4 separate regions of the Homo sapiens genome follow, and all the other regions are linked to region 1. The links are contacts of gene promoters, found by promoter capture Hi-C in human tissues and cell types (Jung and others, 2019). All regions are on one chromosome and are shown on one strand. The core of a region is centred on a gene start or on the middle of the fragment in contact, and the rest is flanking DNA. Distances in the headings are between cores, read along the strand shown.

The links. The method cuts DNA at HindIII sites, captures the fragments that hold promoters and counts their contacts. A contact is called where the count stands out against the background at its distance.
Region 2: a fragment that was not itself captured here is called in contact with the fragment with the promoter of A3GALT2 in region 1 in 1 of the 25 tissues and cell types used here (adrenal gland).
Region 3: a contact is called between a fragment that was not itself captured here and the fragment with the promoter of A3GALT2 in region 1, in 2 of the 25 tissues and cell types used here (adrenal gland and dorsolateral prefrontal cortex).
Region 4: a fragment that was not itself captured here is called in contact with the fragment with the promoter of A3GALT2 in region 1 in 1 of the 25 tissues and cell types used here (bladder).

The regions. Positions count from the first base shown.
Region 1 is chr1:33,319,216-33,322,777 of GRCh38, reverse strand. A3GALT2 (alpha 1,3-galactosyltransferase 2) reads left to right here and starts at 1,680. Exons shown (of 5, transcript NM_001080438.1): 1 at 1,680-1,702. The coding sequence starts at 1,680. The HindIII fragment of the contact is 15,797 bases long and covers 1-3,562 here.
Region 2 is chr1:33,142,385-33,145,946 of GRCh38, reverse strand. It overlaps TRIM62 (tripartite motif containing 62), which reads left to right. Exons shown (of 5, transcript NM_018207.3): 5 at 1-548. It also overlaps a transcript of AZIN2 not described here and a transcript of ZNF362 not described here. Among named protein-coding and RNA genes, the nearest start is that of TRIM62, 38 kb to the left of the region's middle. The HindIII fragment of the contact is 3,913 bases long and covers 1-3,562 here.
Region 3 is chr1:33,474,307-33,477,868 of GRCh38, reverse strand. All of the region lies in intron 1 of ZSCAN20 (zinc finger and SCAN domain containing 20), which reads right to left. Among named protein-coding and RNA genes, the nearest start is that of ZSCAN20, 3.4 kb to the right of the region's middle. The HindIII fragment of the contact is 5,454 bases long and covers 1-3,562 here.
Region 4 is chr1:33,188,975-33,192,536 of GRCh38, reverse strand. It overlaps a transcript of ZNF362 not described here. Among named protein-coding and RNA genes, the nearest start is that of TRIM62, 8.7 kb to the right of the region's middle. RefSeq lists an enhancer at 188-357. The HindIII fragment of the contact is 4,880 bases long and covers 1-3,562 here.

The sequences.
Region 1 (3,562 bases), core at 431-2,930:
GGATTGCTTGAGGCCAGGAGTTTGAGACCAACCTGGGCAACATAGAGAGACCCCATATCTACAAAAAAATACCAAAAAATGGCAAGGTGGTGCATACCTGTAATCCCAGCTATTCTGGAGGCTGAGGTCGATCACTTGAGCCCAAGAGTTCAAGGCTGCAGTGAGCTATGATTGCACCACTGCACCCCCAACCCAGGTGACAGACAAAAACCCTATTTTTTTTTAAAAAAAAAGCAGGGGTGGGGGTGGTTTGAGGGTCAGGCCACAACCTACTGAATCACAGTCTCTAAAGGACAATTACTTACTTGAAAGTAACTTTCAAGAACCAACACTCACATCTTAATAACTCCTCTTTGGAAAGCCTATTAAAATGGAACTGTCTTGGAGGAGAAACACACTGATTAGTTGATCCCCAGGGGGTAGAACTAGGGACTGGAAAGCCTGTCCCAGGAGGCAGGGAATGGCTGGCAGGACCCTGAGCTGACGGGAGGAGGAGGATGCTGAGATTGGGGAGTGAGCCCTGGGGAGCCCCCAGGCAAGAACGAACGCCCCATGTGCTGCCGCCTCTCCTGCTGCTGGAGTGCAGGCCACGTGCGCAGGTGCACCACTGGCCTATAGGACTCTGGGCAGTTCTTTTCACTTTCTGGACCTTAATTTTCCCTTTATGGAAGAAAATGAAAACCAGGCCCCACCTGAGTTTGTTGTGTGTAGCAAAGAGGGAGGGAACCAAACCTACTCCTAAAAGAAGATGTGGTGAATTTGATTCACACCAATAAGTATCCATCTTCTTTAGATGAAAAGCTCCAACCTGCTGCAAGTTTGCAGGGTGCACCTGCAATAGGCATTTGCTATTCCTGTTGTTTACACTTCACACTGAATTTCACAGACCTATTTCCATCATGATCCACAATTTAAAGAAATATTTCCCAAACTTGTATACACATTTCAATATCTATCAACTGAAACAAACATTTCATGAAACAAAACCTACCCTTACGTACAATATAGAATATTTTCCATTGTATTCCTGTTCGTATTTTAAAAATCTTGGTCACGACCCACTAAACTCATTACACGGCCTTCAGATAGGTCACAACTGGAACTTTAAAAAGCACTGCCCAGAGTAAATCACAACGGTTCAACATCCACGAATTTACATGGTTCTCTCTCCTGGGTGACTGGTGTATGTACTGGTGTACATTCTACTGAGAAGGTAAAGGGCTCCACTAGGTGAACTGTCCAAGGTCACAGGTGCCGAGTGCCCTTCAGATCTGGCTGAGGCTCTGTGCAGAACGGCTTTTCCTGCGTGGCAAACACCATACCTTGATTGCCAGCTGTTCCCAAGAACCAAAGACACTTCCCCTGGGGAGGGAAGAGGAGTCTGTACAAAATGACAGAGCCTCCAGCCAACCAGAACTGGCCTACTCAGACCCACCCTCTTCCAGGTGATTGGCCCCAAAAGGGTTGCCAGCCCCACTCCACCTTGGGGCCAGCTTCCCCCAAAAGGTTGCATCCCCGGCAGGTCCCTCGCAGGCAGTCCATCCTGACTGCTCCTGTGGGTGCAGCTCCTCAGGTAAAGGGGGAGGAGCTGCTTGTTCCAGATCTCCAGGAGCAGGCCATTTCTTCCCCAGCTCTAAGCTGGGAAAGTTTGCTCCAGGCCATCCTACCTGCTTCCCCATATGGCTCTCAAGGAGGGACTCAGGTGAGGGGGGACAATGGTATGGAGAGGAAGAAAGCTTGGGGACAGCTGAGCTAAGAGGGATCCAGTCTGATGGCTAAAACAGTACCAAGGGGAGGCACCAGAGTGAGCCCAGGAGTACCAGCTGAGCCTCCAGTCCTGGGGAAAGGTGGCTCCGAGAGGGGACATTGCCCCAGGAGAAGAAAGACAATCCGTGTGCATGGACACCGGGGTGGGGGAGGTTGTATTCCACAAGATTTTGTAGCCAATGAAAAGCTGGACTCCCCTTGCTTCCCTTAACTCTAAACCCCCTTGGCGAGCCGGAAAGCAGAGACCCGGGGGTACATTCCCTCCCCGACTGTAACTGAGAGCTCCCTCTATCCCCACTGGGACTGATGGTCCAGGACTAGGAACCTGTGCCCCCTTAAGACCTAATGGCTGATCTTTAACCCTTTCTTGAAGCCAACGAGAGTGGGGAGCAGGGCACAGGGTGGAGCTTGAGGGACCACCTTCTGCAGGTAGAACCTGAACAAGAAATGTGGAGGAGTGGACTGATCAGGGGCCTCCACAGACCACGGGCTCCCAGGCTGGGGCATAGGAGGGGCAGGAGGAGCTGGTGGGTCCCACCCAGTCCTGGGTCTCAGCACCCTCCCAGGCCTGACCACAGGAGTTCACAAGACCAACTCTGCCTGTGTGCCCTGGCTGAGGCCCAGAGCCCAGAATAAGCATCGGTTTGCCCTACCCTGGTTGGGAGGAGGCTGGTGAAGAGGGTGGGACAGCCACAGAGGGGGAGAAAGCCCCTCCAGCCTTTTCCTGCTCCTGTAGTACCTTACGCAGTACCTCGCACACCTCCCACAGTGCACCTCCCGAGGCAGCCTTGCCAGCTCCCAGTACGGGGTTTGACCAGGCTTCTAGGAACCAGAGAAGCCCAGCTGCAGCCAGCCCTCCAGGAGCTCAGACAGGAGCTGAATAGAGTGCGAAGGGAAGAAGCCAAGCCCACGGGGAGAAATAACAGGGCCGAGAACCTTGTGAGATGAGCCTCAGGGCTGAGCTAGGCCCAGGTCAAATGGAACCCAAATGCCATGCTGGAAGCTCTGGCTGGGGGATCGGGCAGTCCTACTCAAAGCCCAACCCCACCCATTACCCGCCGTGCAAATGCCTTGGTGTAAAGTGTAAACAGGAATGGCAAATGCCTACTGAAGGTGCACCCTGAAAACCTGCAGTAGGTTGGGGCTTTTCACCTAAAGAACACGGATACTTATTGGAGGAGAAACAAGCTGATTAGTTGATCCCCAGGGGGTAGAACTAGGGACTGGAAAGCCTGGTGCCCCAGGAGGCAGGGAATGACTGGCAGGACCCTGAGCTGACAGGGGAGGAGAGGATGCTGAGATTGGGGAGTGAGCCGTGGGGAGCCCCCAGGCAAGAACGAACGCCCCATGTGCTGCCTCCTCTCCTGCTGCTGGAGTGCAGGCCACGTGCGCAGGTGCACCACTGGCCTATAGGACTCTGGGCAGTTCTTTTCACTTTCTGGACCTTAATTTTCCCTTTATGGAAGAAAATGAAAACCAGGCCCCACCTGAGTTTGTTATATGTGTAGCAAAGAGGGAGGGAACCAAACCTACTCCTAAAAGAAGATGTGGTGCATCTGATTCACACCAATGAGGCCGCCCAGCCTTGCAGAGGTGAGCTGTCACTGAGATCTGCTCCAAGCCTCCATGCATCCTCTCTCACACAGTGACCCTGGCCCAGCCCCCTTGCTGAGCGCTGCCCTGAGGTATTGTGTGTCCCCTGGACAGCAGTATTCACCTGAGTGTCCCAACTCAGTGCTTCTCAAGCTGCAGTTTGCATTTCCTTGATCTTTCCTTCTATGTTCTCAGCGATTGA
Region 2 (3,562 bases), core at 653-3,152, 180 kb after region 1:
AATTTTTACAAGAGATTCTGTTTGGGGGAACTTAAGTCAGATCCAGAACCTTGGCTGCAAGGGAGTCTGGGAAATGTCATTTCCCTAGAAGGAAGTTAGGGTGGGTGGAGCAAGCCCCACCTGCGTTTTTCTGCCACAGCATCCAATCGTGAAGAACTCGGGAGAGGGTGGAGTCCACATCTAGGGTTGTCCTGCCCCTTGGCTCTATCCCTGCCCAGAGGTGGGAACTGGAGGAGTGGGCTGCAAGACTGAGCCTAAATGTCTCCCCGGCCTTGACTTTTCTTTCTAGTCCTGGGGCCTAGATTCTGCACTTGGGGTCTCTGACACAACACACCATCCCAAAGTAGCCGGAAGAGCTAAACACAGGGGGTTCTTAAAATGGCTGCCCCCGCCACCCGGGCCTCCCTTGGGCAAAAGGAATTGTCAGCCCTACCCCAACCCTTCAACTACCAGAATCTGGGCCACCCCAGCAGTATTTTTATTTAAAATGTTGCCCATTTTATGAGTTATGATCAATTTGTATTAAATTAAAGTTACAGATGTCAGTAGCCAGTTCCATTCATTTTGACAAACACACAGGCCCACCCAGCTCTGTCCCAGGCAGTGCACACACATGAGCATAGCTAATCCACAAAGCAGCCCGGCTGGGTAAATGGTATTATGCTCATTTTACAGAGGAGGAAAATTGAGGTTCAGAGAGAAGCCAAGACTTACCTGGGGTCCCATATCCCATGCTGGCAAGTGCCACACCACAAACCTGTCCAAAAACTTACCAGCCAGGGAAGGCTGTCAGTCTTTACCTGGAGGAGAGGTGGTGGTAGTCTTGGGAGCAGGCAGCAGGCAGCTCATGGGGCAGTGGCAAGAGCCTGGTCTCGGGAACCACACAGACCTCAGCTCAAATCCAGGCTCCATCACTGTGTGACTTTAGAAAAATGACCACCCTCTCTGGGACTCAGTTTTCCCACATGGAAGATGAGGATACCAATTTCACATAATTTATTGGTAAGCTGTAAAGTGCAGTGCACTTAAGGAGGCCCTACCCTATCCCCCCAGCTGCCTCCCAGAGTCAGTGCCTGGAGCTGTATGGGTTTCCTGAACCTCTGGGCTGGCTCTGACCCAAGAAGTCTGTCTTTCTCCTTATGGGCTGTGACGGGTATGGAACCACCTAGACCAGGACCATCCTGAGGTCCATCCCACCTCTGACTGATGAGGAAGCATCCTGGCTGGGAGTTAGGACAGGCTCTGCATGTGGACACACAGGCTGTGCACACTTAAGTGGAAAAGACTGTCGACTAAAGAAGAAATATCAAGCTTTTAAAGAATTAAAGTTCACTTTACTTAGAAGTCTTACTGAGTACTATAGACAGGCCTAGAGCCCAGCAGCGGCCCTTTAGAGAGGTTCTATCAGTCGGGCCCAGGACAGTATTTTAGCCCACTGCTTATATACAGGTGGTGGAGGTTTAGTACACGCAAAATCACATCACACTTGCTCAGAAGTAACATTAAAGCCACCGGGCGCAGTGGCTCATGCCTGTAATCCCAACACTTTGGGAGGCCAAGGCAGGCGGATCACCTGAGGTTGGGAGTTCAAAACCGCCCTGACCAACGTGGAGAAACCCCGTCTCTACTAAAAAATACAAAATTAGCCGGGTGTGGTGGCACATGCCTGTAATCCCAGCTGCTCGGGAGGCTGAGGCAGGAGAATCTCTTGAACCCGGGAGGCGGAGGTTGCGGTGAGCTGGAGATCGCGCCATTGCACTCCAGCCTGGGCAAAGAGCGAAACTCCGTCTCAAAAAAAAAAAAAAAAAAAAGAAGTAACATTAAAGCGGAATCATATATCAACGTTTGCATGTAAGAGTGTGTCTGGGCTATAGATTACAGAGGCATAATCATGAATGCCATCAGACACTATCTTCTGTACAGGAAAAGGCAAGGACTAGGTTTATTTATCTTTTAAGGAACGTAGTGACTCAGGCAAGAGACATGGGGGCCATGCCCACTATTCTGTCTTGTCTCCAAAGTATCCCTCCACAGAGCCGCACATGGTCACAGAGTCAGAGGCTTGTGAAATTATGCTGGCAAACAGAAATGAGGGAAGTAGCTTCTTCCATTTGCTACTGTGTCTCCCAGGCCACTGGGTGCTCTCTGCAGTGTGCAAGGGAGTACAGCACCCCTGGGAGCCCAGGACTGGTGTTGGCTTTCTGTTAAGTCATTTTCACCCTAAGCCATTCTTGGCCTCCTCACCCACAGAATGAGGGAGGTTAGGCTGCAGGCCACAGGTGGATCTTCATCTACAGCCTGGAGCTGGGGAGAGGGAACCACCCCAGTCATTGACTCGCCTGGGTTTCTAGGAAGAGGAATGAGAACGAGGATGGGAGAGGGGCTGTTGGCAGGGGTGGGTGGAGAGGTCTCTGATTGTCTGATGGAGAGCAGCCCAGTTCACAGGGAAGTGACTGGGGTGATTCTGAGACTAGAGTATCCCAAGCCCTCCCCCATCCTCTCAGATCCCTGTGACTGCTCTAAAACCACGCCCTCTCATTTTGGCTCAGTGGATCTGTCTTTGCTCAGCCTTCTCCCTCTGGGGTCGGAGCACCCCCTCCATGGCGCATTCCACCTTCTCCCCACTCAGCCTCAGCAGCAGCTCCAAGAAATGCTGGCCACTTCCCAGGCTTTACTCACAGTTTCCACGTGTGTGGAAGTAACTATAGAGGCCAAATTTGCATTATCAACTGGGGACTCCTGGAAATGGGGGTGTCTCCAAGAGATATATTTGATACACGTCCAGAGAATTCCTGAAGGAAAGAATCTGGGGTTGTCAGGCTGATATCATGAACCCCACATTTAACACATTAAGTGAAGAGAGGGGACAAAGGCCAGGCTTGGGAAGGAAGGAGGGATCAACAAAGCCCTTACCCAGGACAGATAAAAATGATAGAATGGCAGTAACCCCATTTGGAGCCCCCATTTGTAGTCAGCAAGCAAAGTACTGGTCCTTTTTACACCTTATCTAACCATCGAGACACGCCCCTGTGGTTGGTATCATTATCTCAGTGTTTGAGCAGGGAAACGTCACTTCCCAGAGGACCCACAGCCAGTACTCGGCAGAGCTGGAAATCAAACCCGGTCCATCCAAAGCTAAAGCCAGATGTCTCTTTACTGGACCTCTCTGGAAATGCTTCTCAACTTTGATGATGGCTCCAGTGACAGGCAGCAGCCACCAGGACTGTGATCTCCCTGGGATTTAAAGTGGGAGGTTAAACCAGGCTCCACGCCACTGCGGAATTGTGCAATTGTAAGTCAAGTCTCAATTGTGAGCCAAGCTTCTCCCAGGGTCAGAGGTGGAGTTAGAAAGGCCCCATGTGACCCTGAGCAAGTCTCTCTCCTTCCCTGGTCCTCAGTTTCCCCATCTCTATTGGGGAAGGGTTAGGTATCTATTCTAGTTGATTAATTGCCAGGGCCTGAGCTCTGATGGTCCAGGATTCTGTAAGTCTAACGTTAGGTCCCACGGCTTGCCCTGCTCAGCACCTAATAAGGCCATTAGCTCTGGCTCCTTCTCTCTGGG
Region 3 (3,562 bases), core at 520-3,019, 160 kb before region 1:
ATAGCATCTTACATTTTCTCTACCATAGCCCAGATCATGCTTTACTGTAATTTTCTTACCCACTAGATCATTAGCTTCCCAAGAGACCTAGCACAGTGCTCAGCACATATAGGAAGTACTCAATAAATAATAAAGTCACGAATGATTGACTAATGATGATGGTGTGTCATTAAGCAAGGATTGCAATTAATCCCTTTCTGTGCACACTAGATAAAAAATAAATGACCTTCGCGCTCATGCCAAAAGGAATTCCTTTCTCTTTTATTTCCATGTCTCTGTGACACTTACCACTTTCTACACTGTATGAGACATTGTATGAGAAGGATGTGCGTATCTATGTGTGTCCCAGAGGAGATTACAGCCTCTCTGATGGCACCCATGCTGGGTTATTTGAAAAAATGAGCTCTCTGTGTCATCCCAACAAGTCTGGGTGACATAAAAAATGCCCACTCAAAGGAGATCATTAGCTGCTTCCAAGTGGGAATGACACAACTGAATTGAGAATGGAGAGATGGTGGTATTTTTCATTTTGGGCAATCTGACTGGACTGAAGAGAAACAAGACAAGGGTAATAAAAATTAAAGTCTTGCCCTAAAGGCCTCCATATGCTTAGGAAGAGGCTTAAAGCACAACTCATGGCTACCTGGCAGCTTCCTACTCATCCTTCAACCACCAGCTCAAATGTCACCTCCTTTGATAGGAGTTCCTTGACATGCCCTTTTCATGTCCTGCCCTCCAAGAATTGCCTCCCTGATCCTATATCACCAAAGCAATTGGTACATACCTCTAATATAGGTATTATCCTACACTATTGTAGTTACCTGTTACTATATCTGACACCCACATTATACTATATTACTAGAATCAGTATTGTATGTTACTAATTTCTGTATCCACAGTGCTCAACCCAGTATCTGATAAATAGCAGGGCCATTAAAAAGTTTTATTACCATGTATTAAAATGATAAACCTGGCGTATCAAAAGCCTAATGGGATACAGATATTCCATAATTTATATTAAACTAAACTATTTCTGTCTACCTACATTACTGCTATAAGCACTCAGAGAGATCACATATGTAGAAAGATTTTGCCTTTCATGAAATTTCTTTTTGAACCTAAAGAATTCGCCTTTCATGAAATTTCTTTTTGAACCACAACCTTATTGATGCATGAGTTCAAACACATTTCTGTCACCCTCTCACACAAGGAGCAATTCATCAATCATTTATAGAGTACCAGCTATACCCTGTTTGGAAGCTACAGATCTACCAGTAGCTGGGACTGACAGTCCCTACCTTCAATAAAATTACAGTCTAGTGAGACAGACAGTCAATAAGCAAGCAAAGACATTTGCGTTCCTGCACAAACAGGACACTACAACAAAATAGGCAATTAGCAGTCACACCAGGCCCAAAGCTCAGAGTCTCAGATAATAGGTATTTTCTCCTGGAAAGACTTGAAAGTCCCAAAGGTTTGTTTCAAATAGAAATCGGAAAGCCCCAGGGACCACATATCACCATAACCTTTTTTTTCTAAGGAACCATAACCGTAACTTTCTAAGGAAGTTAGACCGAAGTATGGATAGCAGGCTATTGTGGGGAGAGGGAGGCCAACAGAGTCGGCCAACAGCCGGGTGACTTCACACAGAAGTGAACAAGGGAAAATGGACCGGGGCATTCCTCAGTTCCGAGATGACCAGGAATATCGAGCCTCATTAGGACCAGCAATTTCTAAGAGTACCCCTTTACTGAGTGCCCACAAGGTGCCAGGCACAGTGCTGTGTTCCACATTCATAATCTCACTGAAGCCTCCAGGCAGCAACTGGAGTCTCATTAGGTGTTGAGCTGCATTTCACTGATCTGTAACTTCCACTGCAAAGATCAGAAAGAGAGAAAGAGGGCCGGGCGCGGTGGCTCACGCCTGTAATCCCAGCACTTTGGGAGGCCGAGGCAGGGAGATCACAAGGTCAGGAGTTCGAGACCAGCCTGGCCAACATGGTGAAACCCTGTCTCTACTAAAAATACAAAAAAAAAAAAAAAATAGCCAAGCGTGGTGGCTCGTACCTGTAATCCCAGCTACTCGGGAGGCTGAGGCAGGAGAATTGCTTAAACCCAGGAGGCGGAGGTTGCAGTGAGCTGAGATCGTGCCACTGCACTCCAGCCTGGGCAACAGAGCACGACTCTGTCTCAGAAAAAGAAGAAAAAAAAAAGAAAGAGAGAAAGAGCATGATTTAAATAGTGCAGCCAGTTGCGTTCACTATCTGTTCGAGAATAAGCATGTGGTGGTGGCACCTAGGACTTCGCTATTCACCAGGTTGGTCTTGATTCCCTCGTGCCTCTCTTTCCACTAAGTGTGAGTAAAGTGTCTTTCATACCGCACAGTCCCTAATACAAGCGAATTCTCATCTAATGTTCAAACAAGAAAGCCCAGCTGTGCTGATTAGTTTATTTATTGAAAGGCAGCGTGTTAGTTTCTGAAACGGCTCCTTGCCAAAGGATTTTCAAACTAACTGTGATTTTTGGCTAAAGTGATTTTCACCCTTAGAATATTATTATCTGATAAGGTATGACTGCACTATATCCTCAATTACCTAAAGGGAAACTGAGTGTTTATGAAGATTCACTTAAGGTTACACAACTAGCAAGTGGTAGAGTTAGGGTCTAAGCCGAGATCCCTTTTCTCCAATCATTTTTCTTAACCATGTCTTATAGCCTCCTCTATGTGTGCTAGTCATCCAAACTCTTAAGATGACAGTACGGGAGAATGGAAAGAACATTAAGGCAGGAGTGAGCAGACTGGGGTTCTAGTTCCACTCCTGCCACTAATCAGCTGTGTTACTTTGGACAAGTTATGTAGCCCCTGTGGCTGCCTAGCTAGGCTGCAGCTTACAGCCTGATCTTACTCAGCAGTTGCCCTAGGTTCCCCAATTAGTATGATGGGGTAGAGCAAGGGAGAAGGGAGACTAGAGTCAGTGGCTACAAGTTTAAATGGGTATAAGGACCTAGCAATGTAAATGAGTCAATGACTGAAATGAACTGGGTGGGCACTACAGCCAACTATAGAGTGCCAGGGGAACATATGCCCAGAATATTCCTAAGCCTGCTGATTTTTCCAAAAGAAACTAGCACTCTGGATTTTTAAATGTTGGTAACCAACTCAAAATTTTTTCACACACTATGAGATTAAATAAAGCATGATGGTGGACTTCATTCAGCATGGGCTGTCGCTTTGCCACTTAGATTCAGCTAAGTGATCTCAAAGCTCTCTTCCAATATCCAGAAAGACCTAGAAAGAGTACAGAGCCTCCCAGGTCATGAGGGATAAGTGCTGACTGCCATCAAAATCAAGATGTCTTTACAAACACAGGGAAGCTGAGGGGCATCTTGACTCCTAGGGCAGTAAGTATGAACGTGGTCATGAGGAGCCCACTCAGTGAAAAGGGAAGAGAAGATGCTCTCCAGTTCCACAGGAAAGGCCAAGACTGGTCTGTGACCTCCAAAGAGAAAAAACTGGGAACTCTTAAAGGCTGTCAGGCCCATTTGGCTGACAGTCCAAGCTA
Region 4 (3,562 bases), core at 340-2,839, 130 kb after region 1:
TTTTCTTTATCAATTCCCACTTCTCTACCCAAATAGTCACTTTCCAAATAAGCTAATTTAACTCAAATCTTTGTGTGGCGGTCTGTATCTGGTCTTCTAAGCTCAGATCAGAAGTGGTCTTAGATCCCAAGGATGGAATCTAGGATTGTAAAATTTGTCGGCCAATGGTAATAAGATTCCATTATTGATGGTCTTTAATATATTGTAGAGGCCTAGGATGAATTGGGGGACAAGATACAGATACAAGGGGATACAACCATTTATGAAGTCTCTCTAACATCTGAGAGATGTGGAGGCAATGGTAGTTAAAGAACTGGTGGAGTTTGTTGGTTGTTGTTAAGTACCATTGAAGTGCTAAAGGAGGAAAATGATAGGGTCAAATTAGTCAATTACCAGCCCAGGGGATGGTATGAAACCTAGAAAGCCACTATGACAGCATTTTAAAATCCCCTAATTTCCTACAGCTGGAGGGCAGATAGGTCTGAAAACCACATCCAGAACCTAATGATGAAAGTAGTAGAAGTGTCCCACTCCCGTTTGCTAGAGGATAATAGGCTTCCTCCTCTTGCCTGGAAACTATGCAGAGGCCTCCCCTAAGGCAGATGCCTTGCAAGATGATACTTGCCCTCTTCAAGATCTGCTTCTACATTCTCTTGCGTCTTCTAGGTCAATCACTAGGGTTAAATCTCATCACTCAACCATTGAGGAGGTACTATCTCTGCTTAAAGAAACAGGATTTTGGCCAGGCTTATGCCTGTAATCCCAGCACTTTGGGAGGTTGAGGCAGGTGAATCACCTGAGGTCAGGAGTTCAGGACCAGCCTGGCCAATATGGTGAAACCCCATCTCTTCTAAAAATACAAAAATTAGCCAGGTGTGGTGGTGCACACCTGTAGTCCCAGCTACTTGGGAGGCTGAGACAGGAGAATCACTTGAACCTGGGAGGCAGTGGTTGCAGTGAACCAAGATCGTGCCATTGCCTGCCTGGGGGACACAGCGAGACTCCATCTCAAAAAACAAAAACAAAAACAAAAACAAAAACAAAAAAAAGGATGTTTACTAAAAGAACTGCAGGACCTGCCTAATAGATACCAATAAAAAGCTGGAAGATGTGCCTGCTTTGGGAAGGGAAGGAACATAGGAAGAAGGGAAATGGAACATAGGGATGGAGAAGAGAAGAGTTGTTGATAAGGACGAAGTCTCCTGAGCTTCTGCACTTACCATCCTGGCAAGAACACTTGGAGCTGGGATGGTTCAGAGGACAAAAGGATCAGTGTCCAATCAGGAGGTAGAAACTACACCACTAATTTAAATAGAGATCTAATGTAGTGTATTCTTAAGTAGGTATAAAATTATTAAGTAGGTAACTGCAAAGGTAAAAAGAGAATGCTAAGTTGTCACAAAGATAGCAATGACAAAAGCAGATACCATGCCCACGGCTGGTGAAACAAAATAAGAAGTGGAATTATCAAAATTTAGAAGCTTACAAGAGAAGTTCCAAGAAACCAAAACTCAGATCTCTGAGGAGGAACACCAAAGTGTTGGAAACTGGTGCTAGGAAGTGTTGGGAAACTGCAAACTGGATTCAGCTGCTGCTAAGGAAAGATGCTGCTGATGCCAGGGTGAAGAAGCGTTGCTAGGGTGATGCTCACAGGAACAGGAAGCTGACAGGAAGTCAATAGGAAGAAGCAAGTCCCTCCTTCCTGATGCTGCGACATCAATTCCCTCCTGCCCTCCTCATTGGCAGGCATAACAGGGAGCAACTGGCAATGCTGGAATGTGAATTTCTGAACCCCAGCCCCAGCACTACACAAGTTGATACAGAAGGGTGGTTGTGGCGCTAAGAGGTGACAGCTTAACTACTGACAAGAGTTACAATAAACAATGTAGAAATGTGTGAACTGACATAACTGGAGAAAGGAGTCAAAAGTTCAGAGGAGAAATGTATTGCCTAAAACCAAAAGACCACCAGCTTAGTAGCTTAGTATGTTTCCAGTACACCTTCACTGGAGCAATAAAGAATGAGCTCCTGAAGGGGCACTGACATCATTGAGCAACTCAGTGGTGGCTGCCCCTTCTATATTGTGTTGTAGCTGCTAGGGAACTGGAGTTCCTACTGTTTCTTAATGGTGACAATAGGATTCCAGAACAGCAGAGGCCAGGTAGCAGCACTTAACCATCAGACACATAGTGTATGGAATTACCATAATGGGCAGCAAAGTCAGAAACTCAACCAAGGGGCCCTTACCCACAGAGATCTGTGGGATTGCTAATAGACCCTGAAGTTCCTAAGGGCGAGATCAGTGGGTGACTAGCAAGGGTATTGCTGCCCAATATAATAAAAACAGATCAAGAGCATGTAATGTGAAGACTGAGGTGAGCCATCACAGTGGAAAATCACTATCCCTCACCCATTTTTCATGCTTAAGCTAGTCCTCAGACCCAGTACCACAGTAACTGTACACAGGAGAACAAAAATATCCAGATATTTCTATAGTTGGGGAATTCAGAGTCCGGACTGACACTGATTCCAGGGGATCCAAATTGCCACTATAGCCCTCCTGTTAAAGTAAGGAGATATGGAGGCAAGATGATAAATGGAGTCTTTGCCAAAGCCCATTTTACAGTGAGTCCAGTGGGTCTTCACACCCTCCTGTGACTATTTTCCCCATCCCTGAATACTTAATTGGGATTAGTAAACTCAGCAGGCAGTAGAAACCTCACATCGGTTTCTTAATCTGTAAAGAAACTGGTGAGGGTCACCCAAAGCAGAGGTGACAACAGTATGTGTATATATATATATGTGTATGTGTGTATGTATATATATACGTATATATGTGTATATATATATACGTATATATATACATATATATATATATATATATATATATATATATATATATGCTGGAATGTGAATTTCTGAACCCCAGCCCCAGCACTACACAAGTTGATACAGAAGTGTGGTTGCGGCGCTAAGAGGCAACAGCTTAACAACTGACAAGAGTTACAATAAACGATGTAGAATATATATATATGGGGGATCAACTGATTATATAGCCAGAGTTTCCCATTGTAAGTTGTGTACTGTCAGATCCACCCAACTGTATAGTCGAGTATGTGCAACAGTAATCCATTGAAGGGTGGACATGGAACGTTGTCATGAACTAGGCCTGAGCAGGACCAGAGGTCACAAATAAACTACAGAAGCAGGCCCAGAATCCCCTGTTGTGATCCCTGCATTGGAACCTCTCCCCTCAGCTCACACTTATGAAATCATGAGAGATTCCTGATGACCAGGTGACAGAGGAGGAAAAAGCTTAGGCCTGGTTTATGGACAGGTTGGCACAATAGGTTGGTGGAAAACAAAAGTGCACTCTTACTGCACTACAGTCCCACTCAAGGGCTCCTGAAGAACAGCCATGTGGAGAATTTTTTGCAGGGGCAGAACTTTAGGCGGTGCATTGAGTCATCAACTTGGTGCAGAAAGAGTCGTGGCCTGAGGTCAGGAATCCCAGGCAGTAGTGAACAGTTCAGCTGATTGCTCAGGGACTCGTGAAGAGCAA